2 separate regions of the Homo sapiens genome follow, and region 1 is linked to region 2. The links are contacts of gene promoters, found by promoter capture Hi-C in human tissues and cell types (Jung and others, 2019). All regions are on one chromosome and are shown on one strand. The core of a region is centred on a gene start or on the middle of the fragment in contact, and the rest is flanking DNA. Distances in the headings are between cores, read along the strand shown. Region 1 has its middle 22 kb from the start of TNFSF12. Region 2 holds the start of SPEM1 (spermatid maturation 1).

Region 1 (5,415 bases), core at 2,903-5,402, 110 kb after region 2:
GGATGACAAGACAGAAACTCCGTCTCAAAAAAAAAAAAAAAAAAAAAAAAAATTCCTGAGGCCTTTTACTGGTTTGCACAAGGAGTGGAAGGCCAAAAGCCTGACTTATAAAAAATCCACTTTACCCTTTTTACCCTTTCACCAGCATGTCAGGCTTCTGGGTTCCCCTCCCCTGAGCCCCATCCTAAGCCAACCAGTCTAAGGTTTGGGAATTTTTTTTTCTTTTTTTCTTTTTTTTTTTTTTGAGATAGAGTCTTGCTCTGTCGCCCAGGCTGGAGTGCAGTGGTGCGATCTCGGCTCACTGCAAGCTCCGCCTCCCGGGTTCACGCCATTCTCCCACCTCAGCCTCCCGAGTAGCTGGGACTACAGGCGCCCGCCACCACGCCCAGCTAATTTTTCATATTTTTTAGTAGAGAGGGGGTTTCACCGTGTTAGCCAGGATGTTCTCGATCTCCTGACCTCGTGATCCGCCCATCTTGGCCTCCCAAAGTGCTGGGATTACAGGCGTGAGCCACCGTGCCCAGCAGGATTGGGAAATTAACTCTTCTCAGTTTGGAGGATGCATCTGAGGGGAATGTCCCGTAGTATGGAGACACAATTACCTATCGGTGAAGAGAGGACAGAGGAGAAAAAAGGAAAAAAAGAAGGCGTTTTCCTCAGAGGAGTCCCAAGGGTTCAGGACGCATTCGAAAGGAGCACAGACAGCGGGGCCAGTGGCTCACACCTGTAATCCCAGCACTTTGGGAGGCTGAGGCGGCCGGATCACCTGAGATCAGGAGTTGGAGACCAGCCTGGCCAACATGGCGAAACCCCGTCTCTACTAAAAATACAAAAAAATTAGCTGGGCACGGTGGCTCACGCCTGTAATCCCAGCTACTCAGGAGGCTAAGGCAGGAGAATCGCTTGAACCTGGGAGGTGGAGGTTGCGGTGAGCTGAGATTGCTCCACTGCACTCCAGCCTGCCAGCCTGGAGTGCAGCGACAAGAGTGAAACTCCGTCTCAAAAAAAAAAAAAAAAAGAAAAAGAAAAAGAAAGAAAGGGGCACAGACTGAAGATGAATGGCTACTCATCTAGAAAGAGGGGAACAGGTCTGTCCCTGGTTCCTTTCCCTTCCTAGCAAATACCCAGAGTACGTGAGGGAGAGAAAGTGAGGTGTCACTCCTTCTCTCTTCTGTCCTTGTATCCCGGAGTCCCAGCAACCATGACAGGTTCCCACCCATGGGTGTCAAAGTGGTTTTCACTCATATTAACAGGGGGTTCTAGGGGGTGGGAGTATTTACTCTTACCCACATATGCCCTATCTCCCCTGCTGTCAGTAGCTTTTAAATTCCCTAGACCTCATTTATGCCACAGATACTAGCATGATCTTTATCCATGGAACGGGAAGCTTGGCTTAATCAGCAGGAATTAATTATGCTCACCTGCACTGTGCCTTTTAACTTCCATTATCACCTGCCTCTGGATCCCTCAGATCCAGTTTTCTTTCTAGGGCTTTGACCTGAAGCTTGAAATTGAGTTTGGGACAAAAATGTTTTTTGGGGGGTTGTGTGGACTCCTTATCATAAGCTGAATGCTAGGGTGAAGATGTGGGATTGAGTCTTCCTCCAACAAAGGAGAGAAAAAGATGTCTTGTGACATGGCCAGATAACTGGTGGCTATAGTTATGCTTCCTGGGATTTGGGTGCATGAGGCTTGGCTTTTGTTAGCTCCCTTGGTCTTACTTTCCCACAGAGGAAACCTCTGGGTTATGGGCACTGTATTTATTCCCATCACCTGGAAGGATTTGCAGGATAATTGCTCAGAACTAGAATATTGATCCAGATTTTTACATTACCCATCCCTCTTGTTGTTTCTGAGCTGCAGCCAGAGATCCCTGGTTGGTTTACAGGAATAAGCAGGGTTAGTTTAAAATGTAGGCAAAACTTAGAAACAACTAATGAGTCTAAACTTTAATGACAAATATATAAGTTTTGAAATATAATTTCTCTCTATATATTTTTTTAATCTTTTTTTTTTTTTTTTTTTTTTGAGATGGAGTTTCACTCTTGTTACCCAGGTTGGAGTGCAATGGCACAATCTTGCCTACCAGGTTCAAGCGATTCTCCTGTCTCAGCCTCCCATGTAGCTGGGATTACAGGCATGCGCTACCATGCCCAGCTAATTTTGTATTTTTAGTAGAGGCAGCATTTTTCCATGTTGGTCAGGCTGGTCTTGAACTCCCGACCTCAGGCAATCCACCCACCTCGGCCTCCCAAAGTGCTGGGATTACAGGTGTGAGCCCCCACGCTCAGCTTCACTCCCTCCCCTCTTTCCATCTCCCCTCTTTCTCCCCTCACCTCCCCTTCCCTCCCCTCCCCTCTCCTCTCCTCTCCTTCTTCCTTACAGAGTATTGCTCTGTTACCCAGGCTGGAGTGCAGTGGCACAATTTTGGCTCACCACAACCTCCACCTCCTCGGTTCAAGAGATTCTCGTTCCTCAGCCTCCCGAGTAGCTGGGACTACAGGCGCACACCACCACACCTGGCTAATTTTTAATATTTTCAGTAGAGACGGGGTTTCACCATGTTGGCCAGGCTGGTCTTGAACTCCTGATACCAGGTGATCCACCCACTTTGGCCTCCCAAAGTGGTGGGTTTACAGGCATGAGCCACCATGCCCAGCCTTCTAGTCCTCATTTCTGTTAAAAACAAATCAAGTTAGAACTCAGTTGTTTGCAAAATCGACTTTAATCTTATACTTGGCCTGATTATTTGCATAAAGTGCAGCAAAAATAATTATTTCTACATAGGCCTTTTAGATTGACTTTGATGGAACTCTGTTCCACAAGGAATTTCAGATAAGACCTTTTAAAGCTCAGGCCAGCCATGAGTTTGTATCCTCAAATACCTGTGAGTTGGGTAAACTCCTCTCTTCTTGAGGTCCCAAGAGCATGTGTTTTCTGGGCCTGTTGGAAAGTGACATTCTTTACTCATTGCAGGTTAGGAACCCTGTATGGAGACTGTGTAGACAAGGGCATGAAGCCAGTTTTACCAAAGGACTTTTATTGGCTCTGCAAGTTGAGATTGACTCCTTAAAGGGAAGCATACCATTCCAGTCAAAGCCTTGGTAAAACAACCAGTTTCTCCAATTGCATCCTGTTGCAAAAGAAAATGGATTCTTACTGCACTGATACAAACAACTATATTGTCATAAGTTATGAATACTCATAGATAGTTTCTAAATTCTAGAGGAACCAGGCAGAGAGAAACAAACATGCTCCAAATTTTGTTCACAGGAGTATACCCTACTCAATTTTTTTTTTTTTTGAGACGGAGTCTCGCTTTGTGGCCCAGGTGGGAGTGCAGTGGCGTGATCTCAGCTCACTGCAAGCTCCGCCTCCCGGGTTCATGCCATTCTCCTGCCTCAGCCTCCCGAGTAGCTGGGACTACAGGCGCCTGCCACCACACCCTGATAATTTTTTGTATTTTTAGTAGAGACACGGTTTCACCGTGTTAGCCAGGATGGTCTCGATCTCCTGACCTCGTGATCCACCCGCCTTGGCCTCCCAAAGTGCTGGGACTACAGGCGTGAGCCACCGCGCCTGGCCACCCTACTCAATTATTAAAGGCTGTAAATAATTCCTAATAATTTTCCTCGACTCTGAAAAATGAAACAAGGATCAGCAATGTTCCAAGCAAAAGTCCAGAAGATTACTTCAGTTTTCTATTAGTTCAGTCCATTCAGTTAACTCTTGTTTTGCTTGATATTCATGAACATTTCAGCTCTTCATGAGTCCTGTACATTTTTCCTGTGTGCCAATGTCACAATCTCCAAAGTTATCAGAAACTGATATTTGAGCATACTTGTCAGAGTCCTATAGCTTATTTTTTTTTTTAATTTTGCTTTAAGTTCTTGGATACATGTGCAGAACATGCAGGTTTGTTACATAGGTATACATGTGCCATGGTGGTTTGCTACACCTATCAACCTGTCATCTAGGTTTTTTGTTTTTTGTTGTGTGTGTGTGTGTGTGTGTGTGTGTGTGAGAGAGAGAGAGAGAGAGAGACGGAATTTCGCTCTTGTTGCCCATGCTGGAGTGCAATGGCATGTGATCTTGGCTCACCACAAGCTCCACCTCCCGGGTTCAAGTGATTCTCCTGCCTCAGCCTCCCAAGTAGCTGGGATTCCAGGCATGTGCCACCATACCCGGCTAATTTTGTACTTTTAGTAGAGACGGGGTTTCTCCATGTTGGTCAGCCTGGTCATGAACTCCTGACCTCAGGTGATCTGCTCGCCTCGGCCCCCCAAAGTGCAGGGATTACAGGCGTGAGCCACCGTACCCAGCCTATCATCTAGGTTTTAAGCCCCACATGCATTAGGTATTTGTCCTAATGCTCTCCCTCCCCTTGTCCCCCACTCCCTGACAGGCCTTAGTGTGTGATGTTCCCCTCCCTGTGTCCATGTGTTCTCATTGTTCAACTCTCACTTATGAGTAAGAACATGTGGTGTTTGGTTTTCTGTTCCTGTGTTAGTTTGCTGACAATGATGGTTTCCAGCTTCATCCATGTCCCTGGAGAGGACATGAACCCATTCTTTTTATGGCTGCAGAGTCCTGTAGCTTATGAAAAGGATCAAAACAAGACAACAATTGTCTGTGAATAACAAAATGTCCAGGGTAGTTACAGTTAGAAACACAATTGACAAAGAACTTTGGTTATCTCTGTGGTTTACAATAACTTAACAACCTTAATTATGACTGATAGCATATACTTTAGACATTAGAATTTTAGAAATCCCACACAATTTTGGAACATACATTAGTATTATTCACCAGAATATAACCTAAAGAAGATTGGACACCATTTTGGCAATCCCATGTAACTAAACTTGTCAAATAATTCTGTTTACCTCTCTTTTGGATACTGCAGGGGCCCTCTGTAGCATCCAAAAGCCAGCCATCAGGAAAGGCAATTTTGTAATGGAAGTTTAATTTCTGGAAGCCTGTTAAATATGTTAGAGGTTTAAAACACTTGATGTTATGAAATAGAATTCCAAATTACCACAAGTTATTTATTTTGCTAAAATGACTCAGAAATTTAAAAGAGCAAAAACCTTTTATAACCCTTTACAAATTTTGTTAAAGAGCAGATTAGTGCCTTATGAGTGTCTTGTTGTGCTTTTATTTCAATGCTCAACTTACAGAAAAACCATATAACACCCTTTTGAATTTAGTCAATATGTTCATACTTCACACATAGAATTTCTGGGTTTTTTTGTTTCGTTTTGTTTTGTTTTGTTTTGTTTGGAGACAGTCTCACTCTGTCGCCCAGGCTGGAGTGCGGTGGTGTGATCTCAGCTCACTGCAACCTCCACCTTCTGGGTTCAAGCAATCCTCCCACCTCAGCCTCTCGAGTAGCTGGGATTACAGGCGTGCACC
Region 2 (5,274 bases), core at 246-2,745:
CAGCCTTTTCCCCAGGCCTCAGAGCATTGCTCATCCGTGCCAAACTGGGTAGGTGGATTTGAGCGGAAAGACTCCCAAAATGTGCCAAGAATTTCCCAGTCCCAGGCAGGGCAGGGGAAACTAAGGGCAAGCAGGATACAGGGCGAGGGATGTGGCAGGTGAGGGGGCTCCCGCCTGTGCCCCTTCTCCTCACCATGTCTCCCCCACCCTGCCTCAGTTCTCCGTTCCCCTTCATCTCCGTCCCCCTCTTTGAAGCTGTCCCCATCTCAGTGTCAGACCAGCCTTCTCCTCAGCTGACCACCCTCCTCTGACCCACGCCCCCTCCTTGTCTGAAAGAAAGGAGCCTTGAATGGTGGAGGGAGGCAGTGGGGAGAAAGGTCTCACCGGACAGGTTGGGAGAATGAGGTCAGCGGTGCTGGGGAACAGATGGAGGGGGCAGTGGGGACAGGGCTTGGGCAGACACCAGCAGGAATAATTTGAAATGTGTGAGGTGACTCCCCGGAGGGCCTTGGGCTTGGGCATTTGGGAAAAGAATGATGTCTGGAAGGGCTTAAGGGACACAGTGGACGAGGGGAGAGTCCTCATCTGCTGGCATTTTGTGGGGTGTTAGTGCCAAACTTGAATAGGGGCTGGGGTGCTGTCTTCCACTGACACCCAAATCCAGAATCCCTGGTCTTGAGTCCCCAGAACTTTGCCTCTTGACTGTCCCTTCTCTTCCTACCTCCATCCATGGAAAATTAGTTATTTTCTGATCCTTTCCCCTGCCTGGTCTAGCTCCTCTCCAAACAGCCATGCCCTCCAAATGCTAGAGACCTGGGCCCTGAACCCTGTAGACAGATGCCCTCAGAATTGGGGCATGGGAGGGGGGCTGGGGGACCCCATGATTCAGCCACGGACTCCAATGCCCAGCTCCTCTCCCCAAAACAATCCCGACAATCCCTTATCCCTACCCCAACCCTTTGCGGCTCTGTACACATTTTTAAACCTGGCAAAAGATGAAGAGAATATTGTAAATATAAAAGTTTAACTGTTGGTTGTGCCTGCTCTGTTGTGGGGAGGGCGGTCTCTAAAGAAACAAGCCCTGGGGAAGTGACGAGGGAGGAGGGGTCTTTTCAGTGACCAGCTCTGAGGTCTGAGAGGAAGGGGGAGTGTGTGCTGGGGTCTGGTTGCCATGGTAATGGGTCTGTTTGGCAAATGAATGTCAGGACCCGTGTCTATGCCGAGACTGGAGCCTGGTGTCGTTCTATAATGGAAGGACAAAGGCTGATGGGGGCAGATGTCAAACAGGCCAGAGGCCCAGTGGGCTGGTGTAGGCAGCTAGCTCAGCAGAGGTATGTGAGGTGAGAGGCATGGCCTCTGCCAAGGCCTGGACTCAGGCGAGAGGGTCAGCCACGGGTCCAGGACTCAGGGTAGCCCCTTGGCACACTGGAAGGGAGTGGCCTGGCACCATTGTGACCCGTTCACTCCCAAGACCCTCAGGGACAGGCAGGCAGTCAGTGGACACTGTCGGCACGGTGGGCTGGGGGCGTAAGGGCCCCGGTGGTCCTAGGGACCCCATGGCCATGGTTGAGCGGCCGAGGCCCGAGTGGGCCTCGTATCACAACTGCAACAGCAACAGCTGCCAGGACCTGGGCAACTCTGTCCTGTTGCTGCTGGGCCTCATCATCTGCATTAACATTAGCATCAATATAGTGACCCTGGTCAGGGTGGGGCCAGATGGGAGGGAGCTGGTGGGATAGTGGGGGGCAGGCCTGCCGGCCAGGGCCTACCTGGGATCACTGTGTCTTCCCCCACCTAGCTCTGGAGCCGATTCCGTGGTGTCTTATACCAAGTGTTCCATGATACCATTTGTGAGAAAGGTAAGAGGTCTGGGGGCTGGGACATAGGAGGGGCAGAAACCAAGTGCTCTAGCCTCAGCCCTAAATTAGCCCCTTCCCTTCTTGCTCGCCCCTCTCAGACAACATAGCTGTGTGGCTGCCCTTCCTGGGCCCTGCCTCTCCATGCCTGTAGGAGCTGGCCTCCCCACTAGTCTCACCTCTCCCCCATCCACAGAAGCTCCCAAGTCATCATTACTCAGAAAGCAGACCCAGCCCCCTAAGAAGCAGAGTTCTCCTGCAGTCCATCTTCGGTGCACCATGGACCCTGTGATGATGACTGTGTCCCCGCCCCCAGCTCACCGCCATCGCCGTCGAGGCTCTCCCACACGCTGTGCTCACTGCCCAGTAGCTTGGGCTCCTGACACTGATGACGAGAAGCCTCATCAGTACCCAGCCATCTGCTCCTACCACTGGGATGTCCCTGAGGACTGGGAAGGCTTCCAACACACTCAGGGGACCTGGGTTCCCTGGTCTCAGGATGCCCCAGAGTCCCCTCCCCAGACCATCCGCTTCCAGCCTACCGTAGAGGAAAGGCCCCTCAAAACAGGCATATGGTCCGAGCTGGGCCTAAGGGCCTATGTGTATCCTGTGAACCCCCCACCTCCCAGCCCTGAGGCTCCTAGCCACAAGAACGGTGGGGAGGGGGCGGTGCCAGAGGCAGAGGCGGCTCAGTACCAGCCTGTCCCAGCTCCCACCCTGGGCCCAGCAGTCATCCCTGAATTTTCCCGGCACCGCTCCTCAGGCCGAATAGTGTATGATGCCCGGGACATGAGACGGCGGCTTCGGGAACTGACCCGGGAGGTGGAGGCCCTGTCCGGCTGCTACCCCCTAGCCTCTGGATCCAGCACTGCCGAGGAGACAAGCAAGAATTGGGTGTACCGTTCCCTAACTGGGAGGTGACTGGAAAAAAATAAAAAGGAGAGAGGAGGTGATCTGTGGTGGTGCTGGGGTGCCAGGGCCCACACAGCACCTAGAAGCTGTGGCTGTGAAGAGAATGCTCTCCCTAGCCACAGGGCCCTGAGCCCTGAGGACCCTCATTAACCTTTTGCCCCACAGGCCTGTCCCTGTCCTCAGCCTTTCCTAGGCCCTTCTGGGTTCCAAGGCTCTTACCTGCCTCTACCTTGTTTTCAATTTTTTTTTTTTTTTGAGACAGGGTCTTCTCTGTTGCCCGGGCTGGAGTGCAGTGGTGCAATCACAGTTCACTGCAGTCCCAACTGTCTCCCACCTCAGCCTCCTGAGTCACTAGGACTACAGGCATGGGCCACTAGTTTGTTGTTGTTGTTGTTGTTTGTTCGGTTGGTTGGTTTTTGTGTGGGGGGGGTTGTTTTTGTTTTTAAGACAGAGTCCTATTCTTGTCACCCACACTGGACTGCAATGGCACAATCTTGGCTCACTGCAACCTCTGCCTCCCAGGTTCAACCAATTCTCCTGCCTTCAGCCTCCTGAGTAGCTGGGACTACAGGCGTGTGCCACCATGCCCTGCTAATTTTTGTATTTTTAGTGCAGATGGGGTTTTGCCATGTCGGCCAGGCTGGTCTTGAACTCCTGACCTCAGGTGATCCGCCCGCCTCAGCCTCCCAAAGTGCTGGGATAACAGGTGTGAGCCACCCCACCCCAGCCGCACCACTATTTTTTGTAGAGATTGGGTTTCACTACTTTGCCTAGGCTGGTCTCAAACTCCTGGGCTCAATCGATCTGCCTGCCTCAACCTCTGAAAGTTCTGGGATTACAGGTGTGAGCCACTGTGCCCGGACTGTTTCCTCCCCCTCCCCTGAGGCAGGGTCTTGATCTGTCACTCAGGCTGGAGGGCAGTGGTGCAATCATGGCTCACTGGAGACTCAACCTCCTGAGCTCAAGCAGTCTTCCTGCCTCAGCCTCCTGAGTAGCTGGGACAACAGGCACCACCACGCCCAGTTAATTCCTTGTTTTCTTTAGTGCACAGAGAAGCCCCTAAATTCTACCCCAGGTCCCCAGGCAGTCGTGCACTAGAGGAGAGATCTCCATCTCCATGGCCCTAGCTCCTCAGAAGGCTGGTGCCTGCCAGAGCCCAGCGTTAGGCTGCAGCCACCGGTGAGGCCTGGTTCCCACGTAAGCCCTGATTTATTTGGGGAGGGATGGCTGAGAGGGCGTCTAGTCCTTCACAGTTCCCCAGTCACCCTGAAGGTCCTATACCCTTAAGCAGGATTGGAGCAGAGGAGGAAATATTGGGGCCCCCTTGGCTGGGCGCAGTGGCTAACGCCTGTAATCCCAGCACTTTGGGAAGCCGAGGCGGGCGGATCACGAGGTCAGGAGGTCGAGACCTCTTGGCTAACACAGTGACACCCCGTCTCTACTAAAAAATGAAAAATAAAAAATAAAAAAATTAGCTGGGCATGATGGTGGGCGCCTGTAGTCCCAGCTACTTGGGAGGCTGAGGCAGGAGAATGGTGTGAACGTGGGAGGCAGAGGTTGCAGTTAGCCAAGATGGCGCCCCTGCACCCCAGCCTGGGCGACAGAGCGAGACTCCATCAAAAAAAAAAAAAAAGGCCGGGCGTGGTGGCTCACATCTGTAATCCCAGCATTTTGGGAGGCCGAGGCGGGCAGATCACAAGGTCAGGAGATTGAGACCATCCTGGCTAACATGGTGAAACCCCATCTCTACTAAAAATATGAAAACAAAAAATTAGCCGGGCGTGGTGGTGGGCGCCTATAGTCCCAGCTACTTGGGAGGCTGAGGCAGGAGAATGGTGTGAACCCAGGAGGCGGAGCTTGCAGTGAGCCGAGATTGCACCACTACACTCCAGCCTGGGCAACAGAGCGAGACTCCATCTCAAAAAAAAAAAAAAAGAAGAGAAATATTGGGGCCCCCCTCAAGAGGTACCTCACTGTAACATCACAGCTCTCTGTGACCTCACTCCTTTGATTAACTCACCATGTCACCAGTGAGGAGACTAAGTTCAGAGAAGCTAAGGGTCTTGCTCATGGTTACACAGACACTGAGGATCAAGCTCATGGCCTCAGATGCTCCATCCCATTGCTGCAGAGCCAGCCTGACCCACCAGAACCTCCCACCTTCCCCAGTTCACCATGTGAACTCAGAAACTGAGAAACAGAGAAACTCAGGCCCTGCCTTTCTGCTACACAATTGGGATCATATGCACATGCACACACATACCACTTGAGAACAAGCAGCTGTGTGCGTGAGCCCAGGCTGAGGGAGCTGGACTTCACCTTCCACTCTAGACAGATTCCTGGAATGTGAGCAGACGGACCGTTTACAAATGGCCCTACTTCTCTCATTCAACTAACGTTACTGATCATTTTCAATGGATTCCATTCAGTGGAATCTGAATCTACTCTGCATCTACTCTGTGTTTGGAGGCTGGATGGGATATGATCACTGGCCTTTCTTTCTGCT

The links. Contacts are between HindIII fragments. The study calls those that stand out against the background at their distance.
Region 1: a contact is called between a fragment that was not itself captured here and the fragment with the promoter of SPEM1 in region 2, in 2 of the 25 tissues and cell types used here (IMR-90 fibroblasts and spleen).

Annotation. Positions count from the first base shown.
Region 1 is chr17:7,524,014-7,529,428 of GRCh38, forward strand. No RefSeq gene overlaps it. Among named protein-coding and RNA genes, the nearest start is that of TNFSF12, 22 kb to the right of the region's middle. The HindIII fragment of the contact is 5,415 bases long and covers 1,446-5,415 here.
Region 2 is chr17:7,418,829-7,424,102 of GRCh38, forward strand. SPEM1 (spermatid maturation 1) reads left to right here and starts at 1,496. Exons shown (of 3, transcript NM_199339.3): 1 at 1,496-1,700; 2 at 1,799-1,859; 3 at 2,053-2,804. The coding sequence starts at 1,557. The coding sequence ends at 2,777. It overlaps NLGN2 (neuroligin 2), which reads left to right. Exons shown (of 7, transcript NM_020795.4): 7 at 1-1,032. RefSeq lists an enhancer at 980-1,499. The HindIII fragment of the contact is 17,952 bases long and covers 1-5,274 here.